Linked DNA regions of Homo sapiens: all the other regions are linked to region 3. Evidence: promoter capture Hi-C in 16 types of primary human blood cells and fetal thymus (Javierre and others, 2016). All regions are on one chromosome and are shown on one strand. Each heading gives the region's core, a stretch centred on a gene start or on the middle of the fragment in contact. The rest is flanking DNA. Distances are from core to core; before and after follow the strand shown. Region 1 overlaps NARS2 (asparaginyl-tRNA synthetase 2, mitochondrial). Region 2 holds the start of NARS2 (asparaginyl-tRNA synthetase 2, mitochondrial). Region 3 holds the start of THRSP (thyroid hormone responsive). Region 4 has its middle 20 kb from the start of CLNS1A. Region 5 overlaps NARS2 (asparaginyl-tRNA synthetase 2, mitochondrial). Region 6 holds the start of CLNS1A (chloride nucleotide-sensitive channel 1A). Region 7 overlaps NARS2 (asparaginyl-tRNA synthetase 2, mitochondrial).

Region 1 (2,759 bases), core at 1-2,500, 460 kb before region 3:
TTTATCATTAGTTCACTTGAATTTTCCAAAATATTTAAGCTTCTTACTTGTAGTACAGACTTTTGTTTTTAGTGAAAAATGTAACACTGAAAATACAAAGTTGTCATTTTTTTCTTTTTACTAATTTTTCTTGCTTGAATCCCAAACATGTAATCAGAATTTATTTAAATTAATCATATTTATGGAAGTAAAGGCAATTTATAGTTTATACCTGAACCGGGTATTAGTCTATTTCATTTTAAAGAGAGTAGTATTTGAAACAGACGGAATAATTTTTTTTTCAGTAATTGGTTTAAATAAAATTAACTCATACCTACATTTTGAGAGGTGTACAGCAAATTACATCTTTTAAGTCAGATCAAATGAATTTTAGCAACTGTCAGACCTCTGGAAAGTCACTGTATTCCTTGGGGCCTACCTTTTCTTTAAAACGGGATTGAGAAAGAAGACCTTTAAAATCCTGTCTAAATCTTATATTCTGTAATTCTGTGGGTAATTCCCATTTATTTTTATTTTTTTTAGAGGTGGGATCTCGCTTATTGCCCAGGCTGGAGTGTAGTTGCACAGTCATAGCTCACAAACTCCTGGGCTCAAGTGATTCTCCTGCCTCAGCCTTCTGAGTAGCTGGGACTACAGGTATATACCACCAAACCTGGCTAATTGTTTGTAGAGATGGGGTCTTGCTATGTACCAAGGCTGATCTCAAACTCTAGGCTCAAGTGATCTTCCTGCCTTAGGCCTCCCAAGTAACTGGAACTCAAGGCATGTGCCAGCACACTTAGCTAATTTTTAAAATTTTTTGTAGAGGTGGGTTCTCACCATGTGTCCTAGGCTGGTCTCAAACTCTTGACTCAAGTGGTTCTTCCGCCTCAGCCTCCCAAAGCACTGGGATTACAAGCAGGAGCCACTGAGCCTGGCCTCTGGGGGTAATTTGTTAATGCAGACTCATCAAGTACTGAGTTTTCTTTATGTATCTTTTTCTTTAAATATTTTCTCATTATAGAGATTAGGACTTAAAAAAATCTTTTCTGGAAATAGCTCACTTGAAAGGAAGGGAATCTTTTGGTGTTTTCCATTGTTTTAAAAATGCACAGATGAGAAAACTCAAGGAAAATGTAATAGAATAGTTTGCATATTTACTTTTGTACTTTGCTAGAAGAATGGAAAGTCAGTGGTGGAATAAAGATGGTCTTGAAAGTAACATGTTCTTTTCTGATTTATCTTTGAAACAAAAATATGTTATTTGATAGTTCCAATAACCAAATGACTGGCAATATTAGCAGAATACTATGCAGAAAAAGTGTCATAATAACATGGTGAGATTATAGGATTTGCAGATCTGGATGTAGGAAAGGCCGTGTCAAGCCTGTCATGGAATGTTCTTATGCCTACGGAATTATAATTTAAAAAAATTAAAAACATGACTCATTCAAATACAAAATGAATTTGTATCAAAGTTTTCATTCAGTTGATTATATTACAGAGGAAACAAGTAAAATAGAAAACTGTTTCAAAGAGCATCTGAAGACCTCTGTATTTATAGACATTTTAATAGTTGGAATAAGAGTGCTAGGTCAGTTATAAACTGGTTAATGTCCTACAGGACCAACACACCCTAAACTTTGGGATTATCTCTTCTACCTGGTAGAGTTATTTGCAACTCTGCTGGGAAAGATCTGTAAATTAGCGTGTAACTTCACTTAATACGGGTTATTTAATTCAATATTAAATAGACTAATGGAACAAGTACATTTCCCTTTCCCTAAGTAATTAAGTAATCGTCGAATGGGCCTTTGTCCCCTCATTGTGTAATACCTTGAAAGGACATCACCTTTTTAAGGCTACAGCTTTTGGCCTTATATTCAAGGTTTGGATAACCTTTCTTAACAGCCTTTTAGTATTCATTTCTATTATTTATAAAGTTAGAAGCAAGGTGTCTCATCCCTCAGAAGTGTCATATGTGAAATATATAAACTTAGCAAATGTTTGTTTCTCTATTATAATACCACTAGTGTATTAAATATGCCTCTTTCCCAGTAAAGCGCAGTGAACCACAGAACACAGTGTTCTGTGAAACTTGACGGAAGATTAAATTGGTAGAATACTAGGTTTTGTATTTTTTAGTGTGCCATGAAGTATTTGTACTACTGTCATTCAAATGTTCCTAGTTTAATATGCACAGTTCTAGGACTATTAATATGCAGAACATAATGTTTTTGATTAAAGTATGATTTATTCTCCAATAAGAAATTGTTAGTCCTTTTTCCCTCAGCTTTGTTTTTTCTTGAATTCAATTTAACAGACTTTGTAAAAGGCAAAAGATTTATGCAATCTGAAGAGAAACCAGAGTATTAACAGACTTTTAAAATGGAGAAAATGGTAGTTAAATTTAGACAGTTAACATTTTCCAAAAGGATATCTCTGTTGCTTTAGTGGGTTTATGGTTCCATTTTAAAGCTTTTTTTAAAGTAAATATTCTATGTTGGAATAATTTTTAATATATAGAAAGTTGAAAAGATAATGCATAGTTTTGTGTATTCTCTATCCAGTTTCCCCCATTGTAAACATCTTCCATGACCATGATACATTTGTCAAAACCAAGAATTAAATGTTATCACATTACTATTAATGAAGCTCTAGACTTTATTTGGATTTCACCAGCTTTTCCATCAATACCCTTATTCTTTTTCCAGGATCCAATTCAGGGTACCACATAAAACTTAGTTGTCATGTTTCCCCAGTCTCTTCCATTCTATTAC
Region 2 (2,842 bases), core at 278-2,777, 510 kb before region 3:
ATATTGATCCACTTCAAAAATTCAGCTTAATTTTCTCCTTCTCTAGACTATATTATATTTTATCCAACATATTTTATATTATAAGTATATAATATATAATATATCCAATATAATTTAATTATATATTATAATTTATAATTATAATTTTATTATATTTATAATTTTAATTTATTAAAAGAACCAGGGAACACATTTATATTATATAAAATATAAAATTGTGATACATGTATATATTATAATTGTATTATATTTTATCCAATATAATATTTGGATAAAATATCAAAAATAATTTTTTGGATAAATTTAAGAGGTAGCCTAATATATAAGGGTGACTTTTCAGTCCAAACAAATGCAGACAACTCATACATCTATGTGTGCACTTACTGGTTTATATTTCAGTAGTCTCTTTTCTTGCTTGTCTCCATCTCTAAAGCATGAGCTCCTTGATGGAACAGATCACCTTGGGACACTATGTAATACAGCATACTGCTTAAGTGCATAGAGCCAGCACTTCTGGGTTTAAATCTCACACTTAGGGAATGTGTATCCTTAAGTAGGTCATCTAGCCTTTCTGTGCGTAAGTTCTCTCATTTGTAAAATGGGTATAATAATAGTAGCAACTTTAAGTAAGGTAAAAGTGAGAGAGAGAGAGTGAGAGTGAGAGGGAGCGGGAGAGAGACAGCGAGGGCGAGCGCTGGTCTTGAACTCCTGGGCTGAAGCAATCCTCCTGCTTCTGCCTCCCTAAGAGTTGGGATTACAGGCGTGAGCCACCGCACTTGGCCAAACGTTTTACTTTTTAAATTAGATTAAAAACCTTTTAATGACCGTCATTGAGTTACAGAATTTTTTTTTTAATAAAACGTAGCCTAATATATAAAAGGGTCATTGTTTCCAGGTCAAACAAATGCAGATAGCTGTGTTGGAGGGCAGAGGGAAGAGGGAGACTTGGAGGATTCTGGCAGGAAACACTCGAGTTTCCTCCAGTCTCTGCAACATCTTCCCACCGTCTTGCCTGCCATATGCAAGGTCCCTCCAGTTCCTTTTATTTACCTGTCAGAGGACTACTTTCTCCAGGAAGCCATCTCTGGCGTCCCACGCTTAGGCTCTGTCAGGCAAACTGATCGCCCTTTTATGCAACTGTCTGTTTAGCTGTCTGATACCACACAACTGTGACTTGCGCATTGGGGCTATGTCTGATTTTTCTCTGCGGAGTACTCAGGAAAGGAACGACTGATCTCTTCAAGCGAATCCTGTTAACAGCTAAGAGCCTCCTCTTACTTGGATCCCTATTGTTGACTGATGGAGACGGTTTCCCTCTCCATCAGTCACTCCTTGCCTCTCAGTTTCTCAGCCTCACCTGGAAACTTTAGAAATGAAGACCCTCAGATGTGCTCCCACGTTCTTTCAGCGATAATCTCTACAACCTTAGGGCATTAGCTCCGCCCCGTCTCGGCTCCTGACCCCGCCCCCTCCCGCACGCCTCCCTAAGCCTGGGTCACAAGTACGCATGCTCTCCCTTCTTCCCCGTAGCGTGATGACGTAAGCGGCGTTGGCGTGGTGTGGTAGGAGTGGTTGCGCGTGTTGCGGCCCGGGTTCTGTTCGTAGGTTTACAATTGTCGCGGGTAGTGGGGCGCCCCAGCTGCCAACTGCACGTGGTTTCTTTCTGGCGTTTGCCTAGTGTCCTGTCCATTCCGCCCCGTTGGGAAGTGGGAAGCGGAGAGGTTCTGTGGGGACAGAGCTGGGAGTCCTGAAGGAGAAAGCGCGCAGCCGAGGGGCTCTGGAGTGCCTTAGAGCAGAGCTGCGGCCGCGGAAGGGGAGCAGCTGAGAAAGGAGGGCCGCTGCAGGCGGGGTTCGAACCGTGGGGTCTGGGCTGCTCCCGCGGAGGGCCTGGGCGGACGCGGGATGCTGGGGGTCCGCTGCCTGCTGCGGTCCGTGCGCTTCTGTTCCTCCGCCCCCTTCCCCAAGCACAAACCTTCAGCCAAACTGAGCGTGCGGGACGCTCTCGGGGCTCAGAACGCGAGTGGGGAGCGCATTAAGATCCAGGTTGGTGAATGGGAAGGGAGTGGGTTTTTTCTTGTAGGGACTTTTATATGGCACATCCACATCTAGCTTTTCTTTTACAGTCGGGTCAGACACAACCGCCAGCAGGGAAAAGTTAGAAAGTGTAGGCGTCGCGGGTTTGCACTTTTCTGATTTCCATTACTTTTCACAAAACTGTTCCGATAACTGTAAAGCGCTGGAACTTTGCTTTCATGATTCCAGGGTATTACCTGTAAACTTGTTAATCATACCAAAAGTGTAAATGAACAAGCCCCCTTTCTCTATCTTTATCCCTTATAATGAATATCCAGGTTTATAAAGTGGTTGTCTTGACCTCCCTCCTTGAGAGCAGAAACCGTGTCTTACCTGCCTTTGTATTCACACATGGCTGACAGCAAATACTTGTTCAAACCATGCCTTTTAAACTTTTAGCGACCTCAGTGCCTATTGTGGGGGTCTGCATGTAATTTATTTTTAATGAATTCGGAGAAAGACTGGAATGTAGCAGTTTGAAAGAGCTCTGGAGTTAAGCTGCTTAGGTTTAAATCTCTGCATAGCGTTTATGCGTTCTACACCTTATTTTCCTCTTATGGAAAGAGATAATAATTGTCCCTGAGTCCTGAAAATTAAATGAGGTAATGGAAGTAAGATATTTAGAACAGTGGCTCATAGTCTACAAATGTTAGCTGCTATTGTTTCTCTTGCTGATTATATTATTTGCAGCAGCTCCACATAGAAGAGGTGCAGAATAAACAAGGTGTTTGACTGTTTCTTATTAGGTTGCTGAAGTACACTGATGTGG
Region 3 (2,758 bases), core at 80-2,579:
CAACCTGGGATGGTCAGAGTACCCCCAGCCTGTTGTAGCAGTACTGCAAGCAGCCTCACCTATGTATCCCCATGTGCCATATAATAATTTTCCATGTTCTGTGACTTGAAAAAATGTTGGGAAACACTGTCACACAAATGGAATTCACAATGTTCACTTAAATCAATGTGCATGCCTTAGGTAAGTTTTTTTTTTTTTTTTGAGATGGAGTCTCCCTCTGTCACCTAGGCTGGAGTGCAGTGGCACAATCTCAGCTCACTGCAACCTCTGCCTCCCAGGTTCATGCCATTCTCCTGCCTCAGCCTCCCGAGTAGCTGGGACTACAGGCACCCACCACCACGCCCAGCTAATTTTTTGTATTTTTAGTAGAGATTGGGTTTCACCATGTTAGCCAGGATGGTCTCAATCTCCTGGCCTCATGATCCGCCCGCCTCGGCCTCCCAAAGTGCTTTGGTGTGAGCCACCGCGCCTGGCCCCTCTTCAATTAAATTCTTAACAAAGTCACTGATGAGAACACACTCATTCAATTCACACATTTACAAGCATTCACATACTAATAAATGCACACATGCACAAACACATATATGTGCATATGAGATATGCCCTCACAGGCCACTTTTCCCTCTGTTTCCATATCACTTCATTGCAATTGCCAATTTGAGGTCAGAAGGATAGTAACACAGGCCTAGTCTTAGGCCCTCCTAGGTTGTGGTCCCAATACCCTGACCCAAGAGTGGCTCTGTCTGAAAGTCAGGCTGTTCCTCTCCCAGTGGGTTGCACCACTGCCCCCTCTCCTCTCCTGGAATGTCCCTTTGTAGACTCACACCCACCAGCATGGCCACCATTACCTTCCCTAGTGTCCAAGGTCTACCAAACTTGTCCCGTCATTTCCTGGTATTTCCTTGTCACCTCCTGGGCTTTCTCGGTGAGGTGCATGAGGATGTGATGGAGGCTGGAGAAGTGCAGGTGGAACTGGGCTTCCAGGTCCAGCTCTCCTGAGGCACTCTCGTCCTCGACTTCCTCTGTCTCTGCGGTTCCATTCTCTTCGCTGCCTGCCACCTTGGCCTGCCACTCCTCCCGCGGCAGCAGCCCATGGTCCACATCCACACAGATGGCCTTGAGCATGGTGAAGTAGGTGTAGAGATCAGGGGCCTCAGCCTGGGCCTGGCCCCCAGGCCCACTCAGCTGCACGTCCCGCAGAAGGCTGGGGATCATCACCACCTGCTCCATGTTGTGCACCTCGGCTGCATACCGGTCCATGACGGTCAGCAGGCAGTTCTTGGGGTAACGCTTGGTTAGCACCTGCATGGTTGCTTCCTCTGACACAATGAGACCAGCAGACTGCCCCCGCACTATTTCTAGGCTCTCGGCAGATTGACAGGATGCCAATGCCCAGCTGTTGGGTCAACACAGCCCTGTTTTGGGCCAATCCCAGGGCTCAGGCCCCAGCATCTGTATCAGGTGATCCATCTGCCCAGAGACAGATCTGCCAGCCTTCTACTTGTCATCCCAGCTCTGCATGACTGCCCCAGCAAGAACCCGACTCTTCCTCTGTCAGCTTGCTGAGCCAGTTGGAAGGAAGCTTTTCCCTTTGGCAACTGGTATACTGGACTTCAGGGCAATAAATAATTCTTTCAGGTCACTGGAGACCAAGCTGTCTCTTTGCTGCCTGCTTAGGGCAGCCCTCCAAAGCACAGTTCACTCCTTCAACCTGGGGTGACTCCATTGTGAAATGGAGAGGATTTGAAGTGAAACAGCTTGATGTGGGGCAAGGAACACTGAGGTTGGAGTCAGAAGCCCAGTACTGCAATTTCCTAGCTGAGTTTTTTTTTGTTTGTTTTTTGCTGGCTAACATTTATTGAGCACCTACTGCACATCAGGGTCTGCTGAGCTTTTTCGTGAGTGATCTCATTTAATCTTCACCACAACCCTTGTAAATGTTTTATTTATTTAATTTTTGTAGAGATGGTCTTGCTATGTTGCCCAGTCTGGTTTTGAACTTCTGGACTCAAGCAATCCTCCCACCTCAGCCTCCCAAAGTGCTGGAATTGCAGGTGTGAACCACCAGTATTCCTGTTTTGCCAGTGAGGAAATTTAGGTGCAGACAGCTAAAGTAACTTGCTCAAGGTCCCACTGGGGCTGGGATTCCAGCCCAGGACCACCTCTACCCACCTCCAGGCAGTGCTGTGGACTGACATGAGGTTACATAGTCATACAAGTTAACCAGATCCATATCCTCTGTAAATTTGAGGTGGTGTGAGGATTGAATAAGACAAACTAATAAAAATGCTTTGTATCAGTCCAGACAAGCGGCTGGGATCAAAAGAGGAAAAAAAATGCTTTGTAAACCACAAAGCCCAATCCTCAGATGTATTATCTATGCAGATTCTAGATTATTGCTAAGGCTTCTCCCAAATCTAACCAGTCATTCCATAAGCTACAATGCTTCCACTTTATTACTGACCTTTCCTTGGACCAGCAGTCTTGGAAGATAATAATCTTTTGCGTGGTCATATTGTCATAGTTTACAAACTGCATTTGCTATATATTTTTTATTAGATATTTAAGAAAATGGCCGGGCGCAGTGGCTCACGCCTGTAATCCCAGCACTTTGGGAAGCCCAGGCGGGTGGATCACGAGGTCAGGAGATCGAGACCATCTTGGCTAACGTGGTGAAACCCTGTCTCTACTAAAAATACAAAAAATAAGCCGGGCGTGGTGGTGGGCGCCTGCAGTCCCGGCTACTCGGGAGGCTGAG
Region 4 (2,712 bases), core at 189-2,688, 410 kb after region 3:
TTGATTCTTAATGAGTTTGCATGAGCTCTTTAGGGTACTAAAAGTCTAAATGAATATCAAAGAGAAAGGACACTCTAAGAGGATGTAACTTGACATTGCAATGTAGCATATACAGTCAAATCCCAACTGAAGACAGCTGGGAACCTACTAGTATTGATATCGGCCACCTATGGCTTCCTTATCACTCCTCCTTGCCCATTTCAGAGCCACTTTACCCACATTTGAGCACCTATCTTTCTCCCTAGTCCTGTCTCTGAGGAGGTATCTTCTTTTTGCAGTACCTTGTCTGCCTGTGTCCTTGATCGGTCGTCTTTTTATTACCGCCTCTGGGTCTTTCACATCTTACTTTTCTATCTCTGATCTCCATTACTTGACACACACTCCTCTCTAAATAAAGTTCTCCCTATTGTGGAAAATGAAAGTTTGATCCTGTCTCTGGTTCAATACCCTTCCCAGTTACTTCTTATTTAACTTCCAGTCTTTAAAATAAATAGACTATGGAAAACCCTAAAGTGTATTTGGAAATTATTACTGAAATGTCAGAAATTCCTAAGAGAAACTCCAGGAAACAAACCACCATCTCAGCAACATACTTTATTATCAGGAACAGCTGTTACAGAAAGCTGAAACTTAAAACAGGAATGTGATTCCTCCCTTTTCCCTGTACTTGCTTCATGTTTGTCTGTTGAATGTAATGTGCATTTTGTTTTCTCTTTGACATTATTGCTTGCTAGTGGGACACCAGTAATTGCACTGTGAACTCACATAACCAAATAGCTCTTACTCTACCATTTAGAACCAAAAAGTTAGAGGAAGTACTTCATTAATGATGATAGAACCTTATTTGAACCTGTACTGTCCTAGCTTCAACCATAAAAGATTTTCTGTAGCAACAACAAAGAGAGGTAGCTGGCTCAATGCTATTAGGTTGGTGCAAAAGTAATTGCAGTTTCTGCTGTATATAATATACATATATCTATTTTTTTTAAAGGCAAAAACCACAATTTTTTTTTTTTTTTTTTTTTTTTTTTTTTTTTGAGACAGAATCTCGCTCTGTCGCCCAGGCTGGAGTGCAGTGGTGTGATCTCGGCTCACTGCAACCTCCGCCTCCCAGTTCAAGGGGTTCTCCTGCCGCAGCCTGCCGAATAGCTGGGATTACAGGCATGTGTGCCAACATGCCCAGCTGATTTCTTTGTATTTTTAGTAGAGACTGGGTTTCGCCATGTTGGCCAGGCTGGTCTGGAACTCCTGACCTCAGGTGATCCACCTGCCTGGGCCTTCCAAAATGCTGGGATTACAGGCGTGAGCCACCGCGTCTGGCCCAACAATTAGTTTTGCACCAACCTAATAGAAAATCAGAAAGTTGGCTTCAGATTCAGAATAATGCAGAAGTAGGGCTGGAATTTTACTGGCCAATGCTCTGAGCAGAACCAGGAGAGGGCCAGAGAGCCCAGGATGAAAGGCAAGGATCTCTTGGGTGCAGTGGCTCATGCCTGTAATCCCAGCACTTTGGGAGGCTGAGATGGGAGGATTACTTGAGGTCATAAGTGATGATGATGAGTGGTCACTACAGCCTGAGCAACAGAGCGAGACTCCATCTCAAAAAAAAAAAAAAAAGGAAAAGAAAGACAAGGATCCACAAGCAGGAAAAGTATATCAGAGAAGGGAGATGGAATGCTAAGAAGCCGTCTTTAAGATGACTGTCCCCTTTTTGACATAGCCATCTTTTTTTTTTTTTGAGATGGAGTCTCACTGTGTCGCCCAGGCTGGAGTGCAGTGACTCGATCTCGGCTCACTGCAACCTCCACCTCCCGGGTTCAAGTGATTCTCCTGCCTCAGTCTCCCGAGTATCTGGGACTACAGGCGTGCACCACCACGCCCAGCTAATTTTTTGTATTTTTAGTAGAGACAGAGTTTCATTGTGTTAGCCAGGATGGTCTCGATCTCCTGACCTTGCGATCCTCCTACCTCGGCCTCCCAAAGTGCTGGGATTACAGGCGTGAGCCACCGCACCCGGCGGACAGCCACTTTTAATAATCTGGATGTGCTTACATAACGATGTCCAAAAGAACTTGTAAGTTTTATTTATAAAAGTTTCTTGTTTTTTATTGAGATAATTCACATACCATAAAGTTCACCATTATAAAGTGTACAATTCAGAGGTCTTTAGTGTTACTGGTAGAGGGTCTTGACTGCAAGTTGTCCAGGTTCTTGGCGCTTTGAACAAAGAATTGGACAAAACACCCAGCAAAGCAAAGAAAGAATGAAGTAACAAAAGAAGGAAAGCAGGGATTTATTGAAAATGAAAGTACACTCCACAGTGTGGAAGCTGGAGAAGCAGCGACTCAAGGGCCCGGATACAGAATCTTCTCAGGTCCAAGTACCCCCTAGAGGTTTTCCATTGGCCACTTCCTGCTCACCTCATGTAAATGAAGTGGTAGCTCTCAATCGGTCTGATTGGTTGTGGAAAGCAACCAATCAAAGACTGAAGTGGAGGGTACAACGCTCACTCTCCTCTTTTTGCAACCAATCAGAGGCTAAGGTAAAGTTAGAAAGTTGCAAACGAAGACCGGCCGGCAAACAGTCTGATTGGTTTCAGGCAGCCAGTTTCCCAACTGCCCAGCAGAAAAGGTGGGGGGTTTGCAAAGGGAGTAGTAGCCTCTGGTCCTTTTGTTACTTAGGCTGTGGAAAGTTATGAGTTTTCTTTTCAAC
Region 5 (2,739 bases), core at 81-2,580, 480 kb before region 3:
GGTGTGTTATATTGGTGACTCACATATCATGAACAGTTTGCTATTTGTGATGAGAATACTGGAGTGCAGTGGCGCGATCTCACCTCACTGCAACCTCTGCCTCCCGTGTTCAAGCAATTCTTCTGCCTCAGCCTCCTGAGTAGCTGGGATTACAGGTGCCCACCACCACGCGCAGCTAATTTTCTGTATCCTTTTTTTTTTTTTTTTTTTTTTTGTGAGACGGAGTCTCGCTCTATCGCCCAGGCTGGAGTGCAGTGGCACGATCTTGGCTTACTGCAAACTCCGTCTCCCAGGTTCACGCCGTTCTCCTGCCTCAGCCTCCCGAGTAGCTGGGACTACAGGCACCCACCACCGCGCCTGGCTAATTTTTTGTATTTTTAGTAGAGACGGGGTTTCACCGTGTTAGCCAGGATGGTCTCGATCTCCTGACCTCAAGTGATCTGCCTGCCTCAGTCTCCCAAGTGCTGGGATTACAGGCATGAGCTACTGCGCTCAGCCGGTAACTCATTCTTGATAAGAGTTCCGCATGAAAGTATTAGCTTTCCCTTGATTTACATGGAAGATGCATTCTGGAAAATTCAGAGCATATTAAAATAATACAATTTACCTAATTCACTAACATGAATGTTCCATTGCATATTTGAAACTTGGGGTAGTACCCACTAAATTTCAGTAGCTCTCCCCAGTTATGACAACCAGAAACATTCCCTCTAAAAAGGACTTTTTAGGCCATTATAAGAATATTGGCTGTGAGTCTTTGGAGAGTTATAAGCAAAGGAGTAATAAATCACTTATATTTTAATGAGATCATTCTGGCTGCTATATGGAGATTAAATCAGGGAGAGGTACAGAAGAAGAGAAACCAGTTAAAAGTCTAATGCTGTATTTTAGGTGGACAGATAGTGATTTACACAGGAGTTGAAATTGTACATCCTCAAATGTGGTTGGATTCTGGAGAGTGAGAGAGAGTTTTTTTTTTTTTTTTTTTTTTGAGACAGAGTCTTACTCTGTTGCCAGGCTAGAGTGCAGTGGCACAATCTTGGCTCCACCTCCCGGGTTCAAGCGATTCTCCTGCCTCAGCCTCCCGAGTAGCTGGGACTACAGGTGCGCGCCACCACGCCCAGCTAATTTTTGTAGTTTTAGTAGAGACGGGTTTTCACCATGTCGGCCAGGATGGTCTCAATCTCTTGACCTCGTGGTCTGCCCGCCTTGGCCTCCCAAAGTGCTAGGATTACAGCCATGAGCCTCTCTGCCTGGCCGGATTCTGGATATATTTAGAAAGTAGCTTATGCATCTTGGATCTTGGTACCAGGGTACATGTTTTTTGTTTTTGTTGTATCTATTCCTGCTGTGTATTTTCCCAGAAGTGATTATGTTGAATAGTTCACCTCTGCTAGACTTTTGAACTTTTAATATAGAGAGAATTATTTTTTTTCCTACAAATGGTTATTTCCATTGCTAATTAAAAGTAGAAAAGTAGCGTTTCTTCTTTTTAAAAAACATGAACTTTCATGTTGCTAGTCTGGACATTAGAATTCAAGTAATCATAAATGAAAAGAAAATGTCAGCTTCATAAACACTGGAAAGTTTTTTGAGTTTATACTCTTTAGGGCCAATACCATCTAATTATTAGGGGAAATTGGTTTTTGTTGGAAATTAGACATTTATTTTATGCATGCCATCTTTGAAGGAAGCATTCCATGGCATTGTTGACTTCAAGAGACACTTTGATCTCAAAAAATGATGTGAATCCCTTTTGGATAATCTTTGGATAGCATCAAAATCGTGACTTTTATATGAGTATGCTTTATAATGGCTTATTCTTTTTTTTTGACACGTAGTTTTGCTCTGTTGCCCAGGCTAGAGTGCAGTGGCACCATCTCAGCCCACTGCAACCTCTGCCTCCTGGGTTCAAGCAGTTCTTGTGCCTCAGCCTCCCTAGTGGCTGGGATTACAGGCACCCACCACCGTACTTGGCTAACTTACTCTTGATTACCACAGCCAGAGGTAAAGGGCAACCAAGCCCTTCTGTTCCAGTTATCAATAACTTAACTTCCTCCTTGCAGCAACTGCAAGAAAGTATATTTTGTGGGGGGGTTTGTTTTGACCCAAGGTCTCGCTCTGTCGCCCTGTTGGGAGTGCAGTGATGAGCCAGCGATCATGGCTGTCTGCAGCCTTGACCTCCTGAGCTCAAGTGATCCACCCACTCCAGCCTCTAGAGTTACTAAAACTACAGGTGCGCACCACCACACCCAGCTAATTTTTAAAGTAGAGTCAGGGTCTCACTATGTTGCTCAGGCTGGTCTTGAACTCCTGGTCTCAAGCAATCCTCCTGCCTCCACCCCACCGAAGTGCTGGGATTTATAAGTATTTATTGAGTACCTGCTGTGTTTAGTGGTAGTCAAGTCCTTTGTGTGGATACGTGGTTTGGAGACTTAACTCTGGAGCATAGGTATCCCTTCTCACAGAAGTCCTAGTTAACGGACTAGGACCATATCTTATCATATTCATCCTTAAAGCCCCAATCTGACAATGAATAAGCCAAAATTAATATTTTTCAAGCAATAGTGAAAAAAAGTTTGGTTCATTTTTCACCGACCCCTTTACATTTAGGAATAAGTTTGCTGTTTTGCAATTTTACATTTGTGTTTATCTCCTGTAAAAGAAAAATAAGGCAGCATTGTATATTCACTTTCTGTTTTGCCTCAACCTTACCCTCTAATATTAGACTCCACGCGT
Region 6 (2,760 bases), core at 210-2,709, 430 kb after region 3:
CTGTGCAGGAGACTAGAGTTTGTTGTTGTTGTTTTGAGACGGAGTCTCTCTCTGTCGCCCAGGCTGGAGTGCCAAGGCGCGACCTCGGCTCACTGCAAGCTCCGCCTCTCGGGTTCACGCCATTCTCCCGCTTCAACCTCCCGAGTAGCTGGGACTACAGGCACCTGCCACCACGCCCGGCTAATTTTGTTTTTGTATTTTTAGTCGAGACGGGGTTTCACCGTGTTAGCCAGGCTGGTCTCGATCTCCTGTCCTCGTGATCTGCCCGCCTCGGCCTCCCAAAGTGCTGGGATTACAAGCATGAGCCACTGCACCCGGCCTAGAGTTTTATTTTTACTCAAATCAGTTTCCCAGAGCATTCAGGGATCAAAGTTTTTTTGTTTTTTGTTTTTTGTTGTTTTTTTTTTTTTTTTGAGACGGGGTCTCGCTCTGTCGCCCAGGCTGGAGTGCAGTGGCGCTATCTCGGCTCACTGCAAGCTCTGCCTCCCGGGTTCACGCCATTCTCCTGCCTCAGCCTCCCCAGTAGCTGGGACCACAGGCGCCTGCCACCACACCCGGCTAATTTTTTTGTATTTTTAGTAGAGACGGGGTTTCACCATGTTAGCCAGAATGGTCTTGATCTCCTGACCTCGTGATCCGCCCGCCTCGGCCTCCCAAAGTGCTGGGATTACAGGCGTGAGCCACCGCGCCCAGCCAGGGATCCAAGTTTTTAAGGATAATTTGGCAGGTTGGGGAAGGCCAGTGAGTCAAGAGTGCTGATTGGTTGGGTGGGAGATGAAGTCACAGGGAGTTGAAGCTGTCCTCTTGCGCTGAGTCAGTTCCTGGGTTGGTGGGGAGGGGGCACAAGATCACATAGCCAGTTTATCCATCTGGTGGTGCCAGCTGATCCATCAAGTGCAGGGTCTGCAACATATCTCAAGCACCGATCTTAGGTGCAGTTTAGGGAGGGTCAGAATCTTGTAGCTTGCAGCTGTAATTTCTAATCTAAACCATAATTTCTAATCTTGTGGCTGATTTGTTAGTCCTACAAAGGCAGTCCAGTCCCCAGGCAAGAAGGAAGTTTGTTTTGGGAAAAGGCTGTCATCATCTTTGTTTTAAACTTCAAACTGTAAACTAAGTTCCTCCCAAAGTTAGTTCAGCCTATATCCAGCAATGAACAAGGACAGTTTGGAGGTTAGAAACAACATGGATTTGGGTAGGTCAGATCGCTTTCAGTGTCTCAGTTATAATTTTGCAGTGGTGGTTTCACTGTGACAATCCTGAGGGACTTCCCACAGAACCCTCAGTTATTGAAGCCCAAAGCCTCAGAAATGGCGAGGAAGAAGGGGAAGGGTGTTGCGCGGTCAAACTCCACACGTTCTTAGCCGACCTCCGCCGCTTTTCCTAGAATGTCTCATCTCTATGGTCGACGGCGTTCAGATTCCGGGGCAGACTAAGTTGTTCTTCCGGGGTGACTGCCTCTTCCAGGGCGGGCGGTGTGGTGCACGCATTGCTGTGCTCCAACTCCCTCAGGGCCTGTGTTGCCGCACTCTGCTGCTATGAGCTTCCTCAAAAGTTTCCCGCCGCCTGGGCCAGCGGAGGGGCTCCTGCGGCAGCAGCCAGACACTGAGGCTGTGCTGAACGGGAAGGGCCTCGGCACTGGTACCCTTTACATCGCTGAGAGGTAGGGTTCCTGGTCCCCAGCGCTGGCCTCCTGCGCGCCGCCCTCCTCCTTGCTGGAGCAGGCGGTGCGAAGGAGCCGGGCAAGGGGCGGCCTGGAGGCCTGCTGGGAGCGGGGTCTCGTGCCCGACGCCTCAGGGATACCTGTAGCGGGTGGAAGGCTCGATTTTTCTAGTACTCCTCCGGAGTCTTCCATTCTCTGTTTTCTCCGGCCGGAATTTCCCCTTATGGATTGTGCTTTTTTTTTTTTTTTTTCTTTTTTTCCTCTTTCTCTTTCTCTGTCTCTTTCTCTCTTTCTTTCTTCTTCTTTTCTTTCTTTCTTTCTTTTATTTTCTTTTTTTTTTTTTTTTAACTCGCCTATTTACTGGAGGTCTGGCGCGTGCGTTGCCCTTAACGCACGGTCTGGTTTTAAGGGTCTGAAGTGTGCCTGTCTTTCCGGATGAACAGATGCAGGAGATGTTCCCCTCTCTGGGATACGTAGTTTCAGAGCCGACTGTGGAGGACTTTTAAAGTTTGGTTACACAATAAAGATTTTCTTCTGTAGGTATAGTAAGGAGAGGAACACCCTTAACTCGACACAGACAGGGGTCATATGCAGAGGGACCAGACTCCCGTTTTGGGGTCCTGGAAGGAATTGCCCTTTTATTTGGCCACGTGGAGCACTTTGGTATTTTGACAGTCAGATAGATCTACCGTAAATATTGTGGTTGTAGAACAGAGGTCCCTGTTTCCTTGACATGCAGTTTTCTTTATTTTGAAGCCTGTAATGACACATCGAATCTTTCCTGCCCTTCAGATATGTGTTGCTTCCCCTTTTGCTCCATCACTTGTCTACAGCCAGAGAAAATTCTCTACTTTTAAGAGCTCATGTGATTACTTTGGAACCACCTGTAAAATCCAGGATAATCTCCCTATGTTACTGTCGACTGGTAACCTTAATTACGTTTGTGAAGTCCCTTTTGCTGTGTAATATAACATATTCACCCGCATGACACCAGAAAGTGAAGGTCGTGGGGCCAAAATTCTGCCTACTACAGAATCCAGAGCACAAAAACTGTAAAGAACCTCTGCTTTAAAGGGAAATTTAGACATTGAACAAGG
Region 7 (2,787 bases), core at 49-2,548, 410 kb before region 3:
TTCAATCATTGTCATTGTCATAATCCATTCTGCATACTACAAATCATAGTTGCAGTTTAAATTTGTGGGGAGAGGGACATCAGCAAGATGATGAATAGAGGGTCCCAGCCTTCACCACAGAAAGTCCATTTGGCAACTAGTCACATACAAGAACACCTTTTTGAAAATCCCAAAATTTGGGAATGAAATTGAGACACGCAGATGGACCACAGAGCAAAAAGTGCATTAGAAGGGTAGGAGCAATGGTCTCAGTTTGACTGAATCCTCCCTTCCCTAAGTAGGCACAATACCACACACAGAAGATTCCCCTTGGCACACAGTTAATGCAGTGGAAAAAGAGACAGCTATCCAGTTTCCCCAGCATTCTGTGATGCTTCCTAGGAGGCCCATTCCTGTCTCACAGGGAACCCTGGGGGTAAGGCCTAGACTACCAGGGGTCAAGTAGGAACAAAGGAGTGGGGCAGTGCTCACAGCAACCAGTACACGGATCTTAGTCATAGCTGTGTTCCTGCCAGCAGTAGCACCTGATCAGAGATACCAGCCAGTGGCATAGCCCATTTACAAAGCCTAGCTGGTTGCTGCAGAAGCTCAGTAGGAAAGTCTATCTGGTTTGAGCCCCTACAGGGCAGCCACCCCACCTAGCCTCAGCATCCACCCCCATGCTTTGCTCAGGCAGGCAGACATCACAAATGTTTTACATTTGTGTAAGATACAGATGGCCAATAGGTTTATCAAAAAGTGTCCAACATCACTAATCAATAAAATGCAAATTAAAACCGCACTGAGATAACCACTCACACCTGTTAGAATGGCTGTTATCAAAAAGTAGAATGAGACACGTTGGCTCATGCCTGTAGTCTCAGCACTTTGGGAGGCTGAGGTGGGAGGATCACTTGAACCCAGGAGTTCAGGACCACCCTGGCCAACTTAGTGAGACCCTGTCTCTACAAAAAATAAATAAATAAATTAGTCAGGTGTGGTGACATGTGCCTGTAGTGCCAGCTACTCAGGAGACTAAGGTGGGAGGATTGCCTAAGCCCAGGAGGTTGAGTTTTCAGTGAGCTATGATCACAGACGCTGCTGCACTCCAGCCTGGGAGACAGAGCAAGACCTTGTCTCAAAAAAAAAAAAAAAAAAAAAAAAAAAAAAGTCAAATGATAACAGGTGTTGGCAAAGATGTGGCGCTTGGGAACCCTTTTATAACTGTTAGTGGCAATGTAAATTAGTAGAGCTATTATGGAGGATAGTATGGGAGGTTTCTCAAAAAACCAAAAGTATATTTACCATATGATTCAGCCATCCTACCTCTGGGTACATATGCAGAACTGAAGTCAGTATGTCAAAGAGATATCTGCACTTACATGTTCTTTGCAGCACTATTCATAGTAGCCAAGATATGGAATCAACCTAAGTGTCCATCAGTAGGTGACTGGATAAAGTAAATGTGTATATATATACACAGTGGAATACTATTCAAAGGAAATCTTATTTGTGACAGCATGGATCAACCTGGAAGACTTAATGCTAAGTGAAAGAAGCTAGGCACAGAAAGACAAATACTGCATGATTCACTTTGATGTGAAATGTAATAAAGTTAACACTACAGAAGTAGTGAGTAGAATGGTAGTTACCAGTGGCCGGTGAGGGGTTCTTGAAGGGAATGGAAAGAAATTGTCCAAGGGGTACAAAGTTTCAGTTAGACCAGAGGAATAAGTGTTCAGGATTTATTGCATAACAAAGTGACCATAATTAATTGTAATGTATATCTCAAAATTGCTAAAGGAGTAGATTTTAAATCTTCTCACTGCAAAAAAAAAAGTGAAGCATGTGAGACGATAGATATGTTAATTACCTTGATATATTCATCCCACAGTGTATAATACCAAAAACACATTGTATCCTGTAAATACATAAAATATTTGTCAATTAAAAATTCAGACATTTTTAAATAAATGTATATGTGTGATTATTTGATTGGTATCTACTACCTCTGTGATGTCAGAGGCTATGTTTAAATTGCTTACTCTTATACCCCCAGGACTTAGCCCAGTGCCTTTAACAGGAACTCAGTAAATACTGAGTAATTGAGTGGACAAACAAGTGACTTGAGTAACTGTGGCTGTAAAGGTATTCTTTAGGCTGGATCCTCTCCTGAGGTTTCTTATTGGCTAATATCACTATTTATTTCAGTCACTGAGGGTAGTGAACCATGATTCAGAAAACCTGGATTCTAATCCTGGCCCTACCATTTACTAGCCATTAATGAGTAAATTATTATTTTTTAACAAATATTTATTGACTGCCTAATATGAGTTAGGCACTTTGCTAGTTCTTGAGAATAATGAAAACAAACATTGATTTATTTTTTTATGGAGTTGAAAATCTAGAGAAAAAGATGAACAGTTAAATATTTATATGAATAATGTAATTACGACTATGAACTTGATTAATAGTGAATCTTTAACTTTTCTGAACTTCAGTTTCCTCATCTATAAAAAAATACTCTGCCTTATATTGTTGAAAGGATTTAATGACAATACTGTTAAAAGCAATATGTCAGACTAGGTAATTTGAAAACACTCTTTCTGCAAAACATCTAAAAATAATACTTAAAATATTATAAGATTCTTTTAAATACGTTGTTGAATTCACTAGAAAGTAGGAGAAGTTCCAGGTGCTAGAAATGAAGAAGGAACCAAACACCAGAGTGATATGGACAGTTGGTGTGATGCTGAGGATTCTCAGGGTGTAGGGTAGGGAAGCTGGAGGGCGATTTTCCAGTTTTTG

The links. Contacts are between HindIII fragments. The CHiCAGO score rates a contact against its expected background, and 5 or more counts as called.
Region 1: a fragment that was not itself captured here is called in contact with the fragment with the promoter of THRSP in region 3 in 14 of 17 cell types (neutrophils, activated CD4 T cells, naive CD4 T cells and 11 more); the score reaches 9.1 in neutrophils.
Region 2: the fragment with the promoter of NARS2 here is called in contact with the fragment with the promoter of THRSP in region 3 in 17 of 17 cell types (naive CD8 T cells, neutrophils, activated CD4 T cells and 14 more); the score reaches 30.3 in naive CD8 T cells.
Region 4: a fragment that was not itself captured here is called in contact with the fragment with the promoter of THRSP in region 3 in 1 of 17 cell types (endothelial precursors); the score reaches 5.6 in endothelial precursors.
Region 5: a fragment that was not itself captured here is called in contact with the fragment with the promoter of THRSP in region 3 in 3 of 17 cell types (neutrophils, monocytes and naive CD4 T cells); the score reaches 5.7 in neutrophils.
Region 6: a contact is called between the fragment with the promoter of CLNS1A here and the fragment with the promoter of THRSP in region 3, in 10 of 17 cell types (non-activated CD4 T cells, total CD8 T cells, activated CD4 T cells and 7 more). The highest score is 10.2, in non-activated CD4 T cells.
Region 7: a fragment that was not itself captured here is called in contact with the fragment with the promoter of THRSP in region 3 in 2 of 17 cell types (activated CD4 T cells and neutrophils); the score reaches 5.7 in activated CD4 T cells.

Annotation. Positions count from the first base shown.
Region 1 is chr11:78,525,988-78,528,746 of GRCh38, reverse strand. All of the region lies in intron 6 of NARS2 (asparaginyl-tRNA synthetase 2, mitochondrial), which reads left to right. Among named protein-coding and RNA genes, the nearest start is that of NARS2-AS1, 5.8 kb to the left of the region's middle. The HindIII fragment of the contact is 2,418 bases long and covers 42-2,459 here.
Region 2 is chr11:78,573,549-78,576,390 of GRCh38, reverse strand. It overlaps NARS2 (asparaginyl-tRNA synthetase 2, mitochondrial), which reads left to right and starts at 1,527. Exons shown (of 14, transcript NM_024678.6): 1 at 1,527-2,043. The coding sequence starts at 1,903. RefSeq lists enhancers at 1,232-1,371, 2,032-2,141. The HindIII fragment of the contact is 10,208 bases long and covers 1-2,842 here.
Region 3 is chr11:78,062,432-78,065,189 of GRCh38, reverse strand. It overlaps THRSP (thyroid hormone responsive), which reads right to left and starts at 1,329. Exons shown (of 2, transcript NM_003251.4): 1 at 849-1,329. The coding sequence starts at 1,308. The coding sequence ends at 868. The region is part of intron 1 of NDUFC2-KCTD14 (NDUFC2-KCTD14 readthrough); the gene reads left to right. The HindIII fragment of the contact is 4,485 bases long and covers 1-1,584 here.
Region 4 is chr11:77,656,337-77,659,048 of GRCh38, reverse strand. No RefSeq gene overlaps it. Among named protein-coding and RNA genes, the nearest start is that of CLNS1A, 20 kb to the right of the region's middle. The HindIII fragment of the contact is 4,015 bases long and covers 1-2,712 here.
Region 5 is chr11:78,542,271-78,545,009 of GRCh38, reverse strand. All of the region lies in intron 5 of NARS2 (asparaginyl-tRNA synthetase 2, mitochondrial), which reads left to right. The region is part of intron 1 of NARS2-AS1 (NARS2 antisense RNA 1); the gene reads right to left. Among named protein-coding and RNA genes, the nearest start is that of NARS2-AS1, 10 kb to the right of the region's middle. The HindIII fragment of the contact is 4,377 bases long and covers 1-2,739 here.
Region 6 is chr11:77,636,493-77,639,252 of GRCh38, reverse strand. CLNS1A (chloride nucleotide-sensitive channel 1A) reads left to right here and starts at 1,459. Exons shown (of 7, transcript NM_001293.3): 1 at 1,459-1,663. The coding sequence starts at 1,539. RefSeq lists enhancers at 1,318-1,557, 1,212-1,731. The HindIII fragment of the contact is 10,516 bases long and covers 1-2,760 here.
Region 7 is chr11:78,473,943-78,476,729 of GRCh38, reverse strand. All of the region lies in intron 9 of NARS2 (asparaginyl-tRNA synthetase 2, mitochondrial), which reads left to right. All of the region lies in intron 1 of LOC105369403 (a long non-coding RNA gene), which reads right to left. Among named protein-coding and RNA genes, the nearest start is that of LINC02728, 46 kb to the right of the region's middle. The HindIII fragment of the contact is 8,270 bases long and covers 1-2,787 here.